Linked DNA regions of Homo sapiens: all the other regions are linked to region 1. The links are contacts of gene promoters, found by promoter capture Hi-C in blood cells and fetal thymus (Javierre and others, 2016). All regions are on one chromosome and are shown on one strand. The core of a region is centred on a gene start or on the middle of the fragment in contact, and the rest is flanking DNA. Distances in the headings are between cores, read along the strand shown. Region 1 holds the start of TOR3A (torsin family 3 member A). Region 2 overlaps AXDND1 (axonemal dynein light chain domain containing 1). Region 3 overlaps RALGPS2 (Ral GEF with PH domain and SH3 binding motif 2).

Region 1 (4,399 bases), core at 631-3,130:
GTGTTGATGATGTGCTCATTGAATGAGCTCATTTAATCTTCACAGCAGCCCTATGAGGGGACTATTTTATTATCCCTTTTTATAGGTGAGGAAACAGGCATGGGACGGTTCAGTAACATCCATGGTTGCACAAATAGAAAATGGTAATCACTATATTAGACTGCCATTCAGACTCAAACGACATTTGTTGAGTGAGTTAATTTTTTTTCTTTTCTCTTTTTTCTTTTTTTTTTTTTTTTGAGATGGAGCCCTGCTCTGTCACCCAGGCTGGAGTGCAGTGGTACCATCTTGGCTCACTGCAACCTCTGCCCCCTGGGTTCAAGCCATTCTCCTGCCTCAGCCTCCTGAGTAGCTGGGATTACAGATGCGCACCATCACACTCAGCTAATTTTTGGATTTTTAGTAGAGACTGGGTTTCACCATGTTGGCCAGGCTGGTCTCGAACTCCTGATCTCAGGTGATCCGCCCGCCTCGGCCTTCTAAAGTGCTAGGATTACAGGCGTGAGCCACCACACCCTGCCTAATTTTTTTTGGTTTTCCAATAAGCACTGTGGTGTATGTGCTGTTAACTGTCTCCGGTGGACTCCGCAAGCTCGATGTACACAGTGCTGGGCTGGTGCCATGGCTGCTACTCTATGAAAAGTTTTTGACATCACACTGAATGGCTGAGACACTATAAACATTTTACTTTTCAACTCAACCTCGTGTCCTAGCAAAGGTGCTTTATCTAGTTTCTGTAGCTGTTCGAATGAAAGGCACAAATTTGGTGAGCTGCTGAGAATGGAGCAGACCTGGCACGGTGTGATCTAAGAGACTGGGGTGAACAGATGAATCAAGTTGCCTGTGACATTTGTGAGACACGGTGCTAGTATTCACCTTACTGTCTGGAGGGCCCAACCTCAAAGCCACTAAACATATGACATTAGCCAAGTCCTCTGATCTCTCTAGACAGCAGTTTTCTCCTAAGACAAGACGGCTTTTTGGCTTGGCTGAAGTAAGCCAGGTGATTTTAAACAATGCATTAAGCTCTTCTGAAATCTAACAGCCTTGTTCCATGCTCCTCGCTATGGAGAAGAGAGCGCTGAGGGAAAGAGGCCCTGTAGTCTTTTGCCAATGGTGTCGGATGGGCTGCTCAGTCCCAGCACTTGAAAGTTGCAAACCTAGTCAAGAAAGTGCACACAGTACTTCGGATTTTTATGAGATATAATTACATTGACATGACGCCTCATGATTTACCCATGACTCGGGGGGTTTCCAAACTCCAAACACCTCCAGACTGGAGCCCGTCAATCAGCTTCCTCTTGCTTTTCGTGGACTCCCACTGTGGAAACCTGCTGGTGTTTTGCTGCGGTTTCATTTCCCTCTGCGGAGGAGCCAGGGCAACCTTGGCCAGACAGGCACCTAGCTGTGCCCTTCTTTCCAGGGCCTCTTCTCCACTCAGCTGACTCCCCTGGCCTGCCTAACGCTCCTGACTGAGACGGTTTTCCGGCTTCCTCTAACAGGTTGGCGGGAAGTTGATCTGCAAACGCGAGGCAAAGCAGGAGTGTCCTTATTCGGTAGGCCTCTGATGGGCCACCAGAGCCGTCCGAAAGTCCTAGCGGAGTGATTGACAGTGGCCATTTCAAAGCCTGAGTTCACCTTCTTTGCAACCACAATCACGACCCAGAATAAACTGCTTCCTGGAAGCCGGCTAGTTGCACCTGGCCTGAAGTCAGTCTCGGGACTGCCTCTCAGGACCCCAGACAGGGTTTCGGGTTCCCGCCTGGGTCACGTGTACGGAGGCTGCCAGTGCGCACTCAGCCCGGCCCGCCGGTCGCCACAGCAACACCAATCCCGGGTTCAAGCCCGCCTAGGAAGTGCGGTCCCCGCCTGACCGCCCCGGGCTTAAGGGAGCCTGGCTAGGCCGGCAGCCGGATGGTCCCGCAGCTCGGGGCCGGCCATGCTTCGCGGTCCGTGGCGCCAGCTTTGGCTCTTTTTCCTGCTGCTGCTCCCGGGCGCGCCTGAGCCCCGCGGCGCCTCCAGGCCGTGGGAGGGAACCGACGAGCCGGGCTCGGCCTGGGCCTGGCCGGGCTTCCAGCGCCTGCAGGAGCAGCTCAGGGCGGCGGGTGCCCTCTCCAAGCGGTACTGGACGCTCTTCAGCTGCCAGGTGTGGCCCGACGACTGTGACGAGGACGAGGAGGCAGCCACGGGGCCCCTGGGTAAGACCCCGTCCCCACGGTCCGCCGTTCGCTGCGGAGCAGAGTGCGATCCGGGCGCGGCTGTGGTCGCCTCGCTCCTGTCCGGGGCGACATCTGGGCCCGCAGTCCTGCTCTGCTCAGCCGCCGGTACCGGCTGTGGGCGGGGGCAGCCTCCGCGGAGCAGGGAGCCCCATCACCGCCCTTGCCCCACCCGCGTCCCCTGCGCACCCCCCTGGCGCCCGGCTTCCCGTCCCCCGCCTCCCCTGATCCCTGCGCTTTCCAGATTCTCTCGCACCGCCTGTGCCATCTCCCAGCCCACCCTGGCGTTATTCGAAGGTGTTGCTCTTGACAGCTCTAGGGAACGTCCGCTGTGGACATGCCTGGTGACTGCCGTCTCCCTTGCTGCTTTTGGACGCAGGGCTTGAGGACCGACAGTGGGCCGAGTCGGGGCTGGGAGTTAGAATCTGAGTTCTGGGTGTCCCTCTGTCCCTGACAAGTTGTGTGGCAAGGTTGCCGCATCACTGTAGAGCACCGGATGGTCTCCTCTCGGTCTCACAGCTCCTCCTTTTCCAGGCTGGCGCCTTCCTCTGTTGGGCCAGCGGTACCTGGACCTCCTGACCACGTGGTACTGCAGCTTCAAAGACTGCTGCCCTAGAGGGGATTGCAGAATCTCCAACAACTTTACAGGTTGGACCCCGCATGGCTTCAAGGGGCTAGGGATCTGTGGGGAGGGGAGGCAGTCCAGGGGAAATGGTTAGATGCAAGGGACCTTTCGTCATCCTGCCCAGCCTCCCGACAAGCAGGAACTGCCACAGTCTGACTGAAGTTTTGAGGGAGTACCAAATGCTTGAGTCAGGGAAGCCCCTTTTTAGCCTCTAGCTTAATAGCCCAGGCAAACTGAGCTGTTTGTCAGGCCCAGAGCACCTTGTTTCACTCTAAACAGAAACAGCTACCTCTCAGAGGGGGCTGGAACTATCCAGAGAGAACTGATCAGAAATTCTGGGTTGTGATTAAAAGTGTCCCTTTCTTTTCTTTTTTTTTTTTGAGACGGAGGCTTGCTCTGTCACCCACACTGGAGTGCAGTGGTGCGATCTCAGCTCACTGCACCCTCCGCCTCCTGGGTTCAAGCAATTTTCCTGCCTCAGCCTCCCGAGTAGCTGGGATTACAGGTGCCTGCCACCACGTCCGGCTAATTTCTGTATTTTTAGTAGAGGCGGGGGGGGGGGGGGGGGGCGGGTTTCACCATGTTGGCCAGGCCGGTCTCGAACTCCTGACCTTGTGATTTGCCTGCCTTGGCCTCCAAGAGTGCTGTGATTACAGGCGTGAGCCACTGTGCCATGGCAACCAGTATTTTCTAATTAGTTTGGGTTGCTTGATTTGCATATCGCAGTTGATTTGCATTTTCACTCTCACAAGGTGATCTTTGGCCCCATGTTCTGAAACCTGTTCAGACATTTGCAAAAGCTTCCTCTCTTTTCCCCAGGAGCAATTTCTTGCCCAGAGTTCTCCTGATCCCAGGTCCTTCAATCTCCATAAATGAGGCCCACCCCAGATATTTAGGTCACTTAATTGGCCAAAATGCCAATAACACAGTGTGTTTAGGGACACAGTCTGGCTCAGGACAGAAGATAGGACTACATACAGGTCAGGAAGTCTTAATTTGGATCACTGCTGACTTGGATAAGACCCTAGGTAGCAATTAGCAAGTTACTTTCTGTCCTCAACATGCCTTTTGTTCGACAAGGGCCTGGATATCCAAATTGTTCTGGCCAGCGGATTGGAGACCCCTCCTAGTCGTGCCTCTTCCTTGCTGGCAAACTGAAGAGTCCTTCCCAAGTGTCCGTTTCCTCAGCTGTATTTTATTTTATTTTTTTTACTTATTTATTTTGAGACCAAGTCAGTCTCTGTCACCTAGGCTGGAGCAATCTCGTCTCACTGCAAACTCTGCCTCCCAGGTTCAAGCGATTCTCTTCCCTCAGCCTCCCGAGTGGCTGGGATTATAGGTGCCCACCACCATGCCCAGCTAATTTTTGTATTTTTAGTAGAGAGGGGGTTCACCATGTTGGCTAGGCTGGTCTCGAACTCCTGACCTCGTGATCCGCCCGCCTCAGCCTCCCCAAGTGCTGGGATTACAGGCGGGAACCACCTCGCCCAGCCAGTTTCCTCAGCTTTAAATGGGAATAATAATGCCTGCCTTGCAGAATTGTGAAGACCAAATGTAA
Region 2 (4,399 bases), core at 965-3,464, 310 kb after region 1:
AGAACTGACCAGGTAAAAACTGTGATTATCTTAAACACAAAACAAAAGTCAATGTCATGTCTCTAAAGGGAGTAAAAAATATTTAGGGAAAGTGGAATGGTTAAAGGCCAAGGTTCTTCTGTTTCCTTTTCATGTTTAGCAAGAGAACAAAAAGAACTAGATGTCATTGTAGATATAGATATAGATAAATGGGTTATGCAAGTTCACATAAAAATGAAGACTCTGTATATATTTGACATGGAAAAGACTTACTCTTTCTTCTAAAATATAGATGTTGCTGGGCATGGTGGCTCACACCTGTAATCCCAGCACTTTGGGAGGCTGAGGCGGGAGGATCACTTGAGGTCAGGAGTTTGAGACCAGCCTGGCCAACATGGTGAAACCCCATCTCTACTAAAAATACAAATAATTAGACAGGCGTGGTGGCACATGCCTATAATCCCAACTACTGGGGAGGTTGAGGCAGGAGAATCACTTGAACCCGGGAGGTGGAGGTTGCAGTGAGCCAAGATCATGCCACTGCACTCTAGCCTGGGTGACGGAGCGAGACCCTGTCTCAGAAAAATAAAATAAAATAAAATACAGATGTTTACCTTAATCAGGTTTATAGAACAGTGCCATAATTATGGATGTTAACATTATGGATGTTAACATCTCAAAGAGAATAAGTATCATATAGCCATCAAAGTTAGTGATCATCTAACTTTTAACCTTGAAGCAAGATGGTTAGTGGTGAGAATAAAGAAGATAGGATAGTCATATCAGAAAGCAGGGTAGACCAGCATGGCGGCCTTGCATGTCAGCATCTGCCTCCCTCCATTCTAAAGGATCTCCCCTACATCTTATTTCTGTCTGATTCCTGCCAGCCTGATTTCATTTCCAAACCTGGCAAGATTCCATCTAGAATGTACACTCAATTTCTTGATTTGGTTTATAAGGTGGAAAAACTGGGAAGGGAGGTACACATGATAACTGAGAAGATTCCTGAATATAAATCTGATTTTCTTGGTAGAAACTTTTTGGAAATCTCCAAATATGAATTAAAAATTTCTTTGCTTTATTTCAGGGAACTGTGTCTAGTTCGGGCACATGATGTGAAATTAACAAAGGAAACAGAAAAAGCCCACAAGGATTTGGCACAAGCTCTTTTAAATGCGGAAAAGAATGCCAAGTGAGTTGCTTAAAGTTTGTTTAGCTTACATAGGGGAAAAGGAAGAAGCTTATATAGCTTCTGAAATAATATATATGATACTATAACTTCTTGAATTCTAAAATCACATATAGATAGCTTACTTTATCTGAATTTAGTTGATTTCTCATTCTGGGTGCAAAGAAGGTAAAACATGATTTTTTCTCTTGGAGATAGACCGTTGCTTTCTGCATTAATCATTTTCATTGAGTGAGGATTGCAGGCTATTACTTTCTGGTTTTCTAAAAGAAAGGGTAAAGAAACAGTGAGCATAGATAACATAGATTCTGGAACCATACTGTTTGCTGTGTGACCTTTGGGAAGTCACTTAACTTTTCTGGGCCTAAGTTTGCCCATATGTAAAATTGGGATAATAATATTACCTACCTCATAGGTTATTACGAGTATTAAAGGAAGTAATATAAGTAAAGCACTTAGAATGGTGCTTGGCATATAGTCAGTGCTATGACAATATGAAATATTCTTATAATGGTTGCTTTTAATGAAATTTTATGTCATGAAATATTTCAGACATTCAGAAAAAGAAAGCATTATAGTGAGTACTCATTTACCTTTCATGAATTACCAAATGTCAGCCATTATGTCATACTTGTTTCACACCCCATTTTTAGGAAACAAAATTTTATAGAAATATTTGGAGATTTAGGCCAGGCATGGTGGTTCACGCCTGTAATCCCAGCACTTTGGGAGGCTGAGGCAGGTGGATCACCTGAGGTTGAGAGTTTGAGACTAGCCTGGCCAACATGGCAAAACCCCATCTCTACTAAAAATACAAAAATTAGCTGGAGGTGGAGGTGCTTGCCTGTAATCCTAGCTACGTGGAAGGCTGAGGCATGAGAATTGCTTGAACCCAGGAGGCAGAGGTTGCAGTGAGCTGAGTTTGTGCCACTGCACTCCAGCCTGGGTGACAGAGTGAGATTCTGTCCCATAAAAAGAAAAAAAAAAAAAAAGAAAAATATTTGGAGATTTAAAAAAATACATCTATATCTATGTCTGTATCTCTATATATCTCCATTCTGCTTCTTCCCTCCCCAGAGTTAATCACTAATCAATAGTTGGTATGTAACTTTCCTATCCATGTTTTTATATTTTACTATAATACATAGTTACATATAAAAAAATTTGCGGCTGGGCACAGTGGCTCACGCCTGTAATCTCAGCACTTTGGGAGGCCGAGGTGGGTGGATGATGAGGTCAGGAGATCGAGACCATCCTGGCCAACACGGTGAAACCCTGTCTCTACTAAAAATACAAAAAATTAGCTGACATGGTGGCACGTACCTGTAGTCCCAGCTACTTGGGAGGCTGAGGCAGGAGAATTGCTTGAACCCAGGAGGCGGAGGTTGCAGTGAGCCGAGACTGCGCCACTGCACTCCAGCACTCTAGCCTGGGCGACAGAGCAAGACTCCATCTCAAAAAAAAAAAAACTTGCTTTTACCAACTAAATACTATTCTTTTGAGATCTTCTCGTTATGATGCATATAGAACAAATATTTCTGCACTATAATATTAACCATATGACTAAATTATAATTTATGTATTAATGTATAATTTATGTATCAATCACTCAGAATGGATTTTTCCATTTGCTTGGTAGATTTTTCTCCATCCCTTTATTTTGAGCATATGGGTGTCATTGCATGTGAGATGAGTCTCTTGAAGATAGCATACCAATGGGTCTTGTTTCTTTATCCAGCCTGCAACTCTGTGCCTTTTAATCAGGACATTTAGCCCATTTACATTTAAGGTAAACCAGTAAAGATATATATAGATTTGATCCTGTCATCATGTTAGCTGGTTATAATGCAGACTTGTTTGTGTGGTTGCTTCATAGTGTCACTGGTCTGTGTACTTATGTGTTTTTTAATAGCAGCTGGTAATGGTCTTTCCTTTCCATATTTAGTGCTTCCTTCAGGAGCTCTTTTAAGGCAGATCTGGTGGTAATGAATTTTCTCAGCACTTGCTTGTCTATAAAGGATCTTATTTCCCCTTCACTTATGAAGCTTAGTTTGGACATATATAAAATTCTGGGTTGGAATTTCTTTTTTTAAAGAATGTTGAATATTGGCTTCCAATCTCTTACGGCTTGTAGGGTTTCTGCTGAGAGGTCCACTGTTAGTCTGATGGGCTTCCTTTTGTAGGTGACCTGACTTTTCTTTCTAGATGCCTTTAACCTTTTTTCTTTTATTTTGACTTTTGAGAATCTGATGATTATGTGCCTTGAGGATGATCTTCTTGTGAAGTATTGTACTAGGGTTTTCTGCATTTTCTGAATTTGAATGTTGGTCTCTCTACCTACGTTGGGGAAATCCTCATGGATGATACCCTAAAATATGTTTTCCAAGTTGCTTACACTCACCCTATCTCTTTCAGGGACATCAATGAGTCATAGATTTGGTATCTTTACATAATCCCACATTTCTCCAAGGTTTTGTTCATTCCTTTTTATTCTTTTTTCTCTATTCTTGTCTGACTCTCTTATTTCAGAAAACCAGTCTTCAAGTTCTGAGATTCTTTCTTCAACTTGGTTTATTCTGCTATTAATACTTGTAATTGCATTATGAAGTTATTGTAGAACATTTTTTCAGCTCTATCAGCCCAGTTACAGTCTTTTTTATACTGGCTATTTTGTCTGTCAGCTCCTTTATCATTTTATTGTGATTCATAGCATCCTTGAATTGGGTTTCAGCATACTCCTGCATCTTAATGATCTTCATTCCTATCCATAGCATGAATTCTGTTTGTGTCATTTCTGCCATCTCAGCCCAGTTCAGAACCCTTGCTGGAGAGGTGGTGCGATCATTTGGAGGAAAGAAGGCACTCTGGCTTTTTGAGTTGTCAGAGTCCTTGTGTTGTTTTTTTCTCATATTTGTGGGCTGATGTTTGTTTCATCTTTGAAGTTGCTGATGTTTGGGTGTTTTTTTCCCCTTTTATCCTATATGATGACATCGAGAGTTTGATTGTGGTATAAAATGGATTCAACCAACTGGCTTTATTTCTGGAAGATTCTAGGGGGCCAACGCTCAGCTTCCAACTCCTGGACCGTGTACTCCAACTCTGGGGGACTTGTATTGGGACCAGCTTTGTTCTCTGCTCCTTGAGGTTAGGAATCCACTGCACTGGGGGGAGCTGAGGTGCTCCTGGACCACTGGTCACTACACTCTGTTGGGTGGTGTCAGCCAAAGCCTT
Region 3 (4,399 bases), core at 1,056-3,555, 300 kb before region 1:
GATAAAAAAATGATACTAGAGGAAATTGAAGACTCAGACACCTATAACAACACCAAATTATAAGCACAGCATAATGCCTAGCATGATAAAAATAAACCCTTACAGTAAAGGCCTATTCAACCTGAGTTCCTATTACCCAATATACCATTTCTAGCTTTCAACAAAAAATTACAAGCCATGCTAAAAGGCAAGGAAAAAACACAATTTGAAGAGATACATCAAGCAACAGAACCACACTCATGAGGCAGAGATTTCACAATTATCAGACTGGGAGTTAAAATTAACTGTCATTAATATGCCAAAGTCTCTAATGAAAAAAAGCGTACAGCATGCGAGAACAAATGGATAATATAGGCAGGGATATTAAAACTATTAAGAATTGAAAAGAAATGCTAGGATTCAAAAGCACTGTGACAAAAACGAAGAATGCCTTTGGTGAGCTAACCAGTACCAGTAGACTGGTGACCAATAGACAGCCAAGGAAAGAATCAGTGAACTGGAAGACTTGTCAGTAAAACTTCCCAAACTGAAATGCAAAGAGAAAATAGAATGAAAAAAAAAATCCAGAATAGCCCAGGACTGTAGGACAGTGACAAAAGGTGTAGCATATGCATAATGGGAACACCAGAAAGACAAGAGAAAGAAGCAGAAGAAATATTTGAAGTAATAATAGTTGAGAATTTTTTAAAGTTAAGGACAGATCCCTTTCTTTGTAATGATCGTGGCTCGATACTTCGTATTTAGCTGCTACTAAAAGGGAGGAAAAGCAAAAATGAGGCATAATGACAAGTGCTTAAAACTAATACATAATAGCTGGTGGGTTGATCTGTGTGTACTGTGCTAATTGAAACTTTGATTAATTTTTTTGCTGTTATCTGTAGCCTCATATCCTACCACCATTTAATAGAGCCTGATCTAAATATTCTCATATTGATGTTCCTCTGAATTTAGCCAGCTGATACAGAATATATTATTATGTCATGGCACAGACGAAGTGGAAAATTTTTAACAGTAATAAGATTTTCAGGGCCAAAATCCACCTTTCATTCTATGTATAGCCACAACATATTCAAACTTGAAACAGTAATTTTTAAGCAGGGAAAACTTAAATTTGTAATATAATAGGAAGAATAGTATTAATTGTACTATCACAAACAGATCACATAACTAAGAATGGATTATATGTAACTCTTTAATTAACAGCATTCTGAATATTTTCTGATAACTTGTTATAAAGCTAGTTTGTCTTTTTCTTAATAAAAATTAGTTTAAAAAATTGTAAGTAAGTGTATAGCCTTCTCCCCTGACTTCCCTTTACCTTATTTGAGAATCATTGAACTAGTTAAAATCATTTATTTCTATAGGAAATGATAGGTTGTCAGGATGAGGAAACTGACACACAAGAAAATGACTCATTCAAGAACCTAAAAATTTAAAGTCACAGTTTTAGATTTCAAGTTGTCTGACCCTTTATCTGGTACTCTAACAACTAAGCAGCATGTTGTGCTCAGCTTTTCTGCAGCATTTGTTAACCTACTGTTTTGTTTTCTCAGTTTTTAAGGCCAATCTAGTTTCTATCACTTGATTGTGAGACAGTATGTAAAAGGCTGCATTTTCTTTCACTTTAACAGAAAAGTAGCAGCTCTGAATCCTTAAGTGACAAAGGCTCTGAATTGAAGAAAAGCTTTGATGCTGTGGTATTCGATGTTCTTAAGGTTACACCAGAAGAATATGCGGTAAGCCTCCTACCTCTGTCTTCTCCGGTTTTGCACATAATTTACATATTGGTGCTATTGAGTTAGAATTTGTAGGTCCAGCAAAAGAGACAGCTTTTAGAAACCTGGATATGGGAATTATTGGGGAAAATAGTACAGCTGTGGAGCAAACAGAGGGATGAAGTGGGAAAAGTAAGAAAAGCTGTACATTTTTTTTTAGGGCAACTTTATAAGTTACACTTCAATTTGGTAAGTAGCAATATGTATTTACCATTATGGTAATTGCTGTCATCCCTCTATACCATTTCTCTAAGCCAACTGTATTTTGTTGACATATCTAAGAAACATTTTCACTGGTTTTTTTAATTAAAAAATTGAAAAATGAAATATGAAGGTGTTATTAGATGAAAGGTATCTAGAAAAACATTTATTTCTTAATATAAATTTATTTGTTTTCTCATTCTCCTTTAATTTGTTAACAGAATATATTGATTTCCTAATGTTAAACCATTCCTGCATTCCAGAGATAAACTGTGCTTGGTCATAGCATATTATTCCTTGATAGTGTTGACTTTTGTCTTATATCTATAGCCATAAGTGGGATAGGTCCATAGCATATAAAGCTCTTAGATATAATGTTGGCTTTAGTGTAGTTTCATTATTTTTTTATAAGTTAGGAAGAAAACCTTTTTAGTAATATCTGATTTTATACCACTGTTTGAGGAGCTGTAATCATCATAACAAGAACACTGCTATGTGAACTAATAAATCTGGTTTTTATTTTTTGATTATAATTTAATGTGACTGTCCAAATTTTTAAAATTATTTTTATTTTTTAACTTTACACAATTTATCTTCCAAGAAAATATAAATAGACATGAGATCATTAGAAATAATTCTATTTAATGGTACAGGGGCTAAATTTTGTTTTCCATAAGCCCTTATAAAATTGAGTATTTGGTAATATTTTAGTATAGAATATAATTTTAATTTAGGTTACATGTTATGGTATAGAATTCCAAAGAAGAAATTGTCATTTTTACTTTATATTTCAGGGTCAGATAACATTAATGGATGTTCCAGTATTTAAAGCTATTCAACCAGATGTAAGTAGTTTTGAGAATGTTCCTTTTAAATATAGAAAACGATCAATCTCAAATTAAGTGTTTTAGAAATGTCAAATTATACTTCATATTAATTTTAAAATGTTTGAAGCTTGTGTTGTAACTTATCTACATACTGTTTGGGCCTCAGAAACCCACGTGGCATTCATAGCAATACATTATTGAGTCATAGATAGGACTATACTTGACATCTGAACAAAGCGGAGGTTAGGAGCATTGACACTTGCTCAGTGAAAACTCTTTCTATAACTTTTGATTCCCTGCAAACTTAACTTCAAATAGCCTGATGTTGACCAAAAGCCTTACTGGTAACATAAACAATCAACTAACACATATTTTGTATGTTATATGTATTTTGTACTCGGTTCTTACAATAAACTAGAGAAAAAATGTTACTAAGAAAATCATAAGGAAGAGAAACAATATTTACTATTCATTCAGGGGAAGCGGATCATCATAAAGGTCTTTATCCTCATTAGCCTCACATCGAGTAGACTGAGGAAGAAGGGAGATTTGTTCTGCTATCTCAAGGGTGGTAGAGGTGGAAGAAAATCCGTGTATAAGTAGACCCATGTGTTGTTTACAGGTCAGCTGTATTTGAATCATTTTGATTGATTTGGCTGCATTACTTACTGGAGGAAATAGACTTAGGGAAGTTGAATGATTTACCTATTGCTTTGAAGCTTTTTAATGGGAAGATGGAAATTTGAAACTGGGTTTCACCACTAACTCTAGTAATCTTTTCCCTTATATCTTTATTTTATGACTTAATAATATGACTGCGTTGACATTTTGGAGAGGAGAGAAAGGATCAAGAAACACATCATTTGTTTCTAATGAAAACAAAGGGACTGGCGTTATGCATCTATCCACTATAAGCATGGGGGTGTGTGTGTGTATAGTGTTCCTATCATTTTAACATCCTGAGTATGATAGTATCTCTGTTTTACTGATGAGGAAACAGTGACAATTGTCTTTGGTACACAACTAAGTGGTGGAACTGGGTTTCAGACTCTAAAATCTGATTTTTTTTAACCTCTCATCTAGTATATCAATGTGATTTTGTATTCCAAAACAAAGTCATTGATAATCCTGAAATTCAATACTACAAAATAGATACAATTTTAGTTCTTTCGGGAACAAAATATAGTGTATTCATTGTGCTATATACAAGTCTGTAGTGGCCCTGAACACTGTAATGACTATGAGTTTCCATTTATGTCCTACATGATGTAGGTAGTATTAGTCCTGTGATTTTCAAGTAAGTTACTTCCTGTCTTAGTATCTCAAATTCGATACCTATAAATGAAGGGGTGGGCCGAAATGATCGTCAGTTCCCATCATTTCCACAATTCTGTGTTTTCCTAACTTTTCCCCCATACCTCAGAGGGCTCTCTAAGTAGAACCATTGGATTAGCAATAGAAGAAGAACAATGTATTCTATAAATAAAGCACAAGAAGAAAATGGCTTTTGTATTTAAATGGCAAAAAGAAAAAACCAGAAATACTTATTTCTTCTCCTCCCTGAAAAAAAAAATCAAAAAAATGAAATTCTTTATG

Evidence for each region. Contacts are between HindIII fragments. The CHiCAGO score rates a contact against its expected background, and 5 or more counts as called.
Region 2: a contact is called between a fragment that was not itself captured here and the fragment with the promoter of TOR3A in region 1, in 3 of 17 cell types (activated CD4 T cells, total CD4 T cells and naive CD8 T cells). The highest score is 5.9, in activated CD4 T cells.
Region 3: a contact is called between a fragment that was not itself captured here and the fragment with the promoter of TOR3A in region 1, in 1 of 17 cell types (erythroblasts). The highest score is 5.7, in erythroblasts.

What each region holds. Positions count from the first base shown.
Region 1 is chr1:179,080,190-179,084,588 of GRCh38, forward strand. TOR3A (torsin family 3 member A) reads left to right here and starts at 1,881. Exons shown (of 6, transcript NM_022371.4): 1 at 1,881-2,198; 2 at 2,751-2,864. The coding sequence starts at 1,940. RefSeq lists silencers at 1,856-2,145, 2,286-2,455, 3,446-3,505. The HindIII fragment of the contact is 9,470 bases long and covers 1-3,639 here.
Region 2 is chr1:179,394,032-179,398,430 of GRCh38, forward strand. AXDND1 (axonemal dynein light chain domain containing 1) reads left to right here. Exons shown (of 26, transcript NM_144696.6): 10 at 1-12; 11 at 1,067-1,171. Among named protein-coding and RNA genes, the nearest start is that of AXDND1, 30 kb to the left of the region's middle. The HindIII fragment of the contact is 1,994 bases long and covers 1,218-3,211 here.
Region 3 is chr1:178,782,787-178,787,185 of GRCh38, forward strand. It overlaps RALGPS2 (Ral GEF with PH domain and SH3 binding motif 2), which reads left to right. Exons shown (of 20, transcript NM_152663.5): 3 at 1,632-1,736; 4 at 2,771-2,821. Among named protein-coding and RNA genes, the nearest start is that of RALGPS2-AS1, 59 kb to the left of the region's middle. The HindIII fragment of the contact is 1,246 bases long and covers 1,683-2,928 here.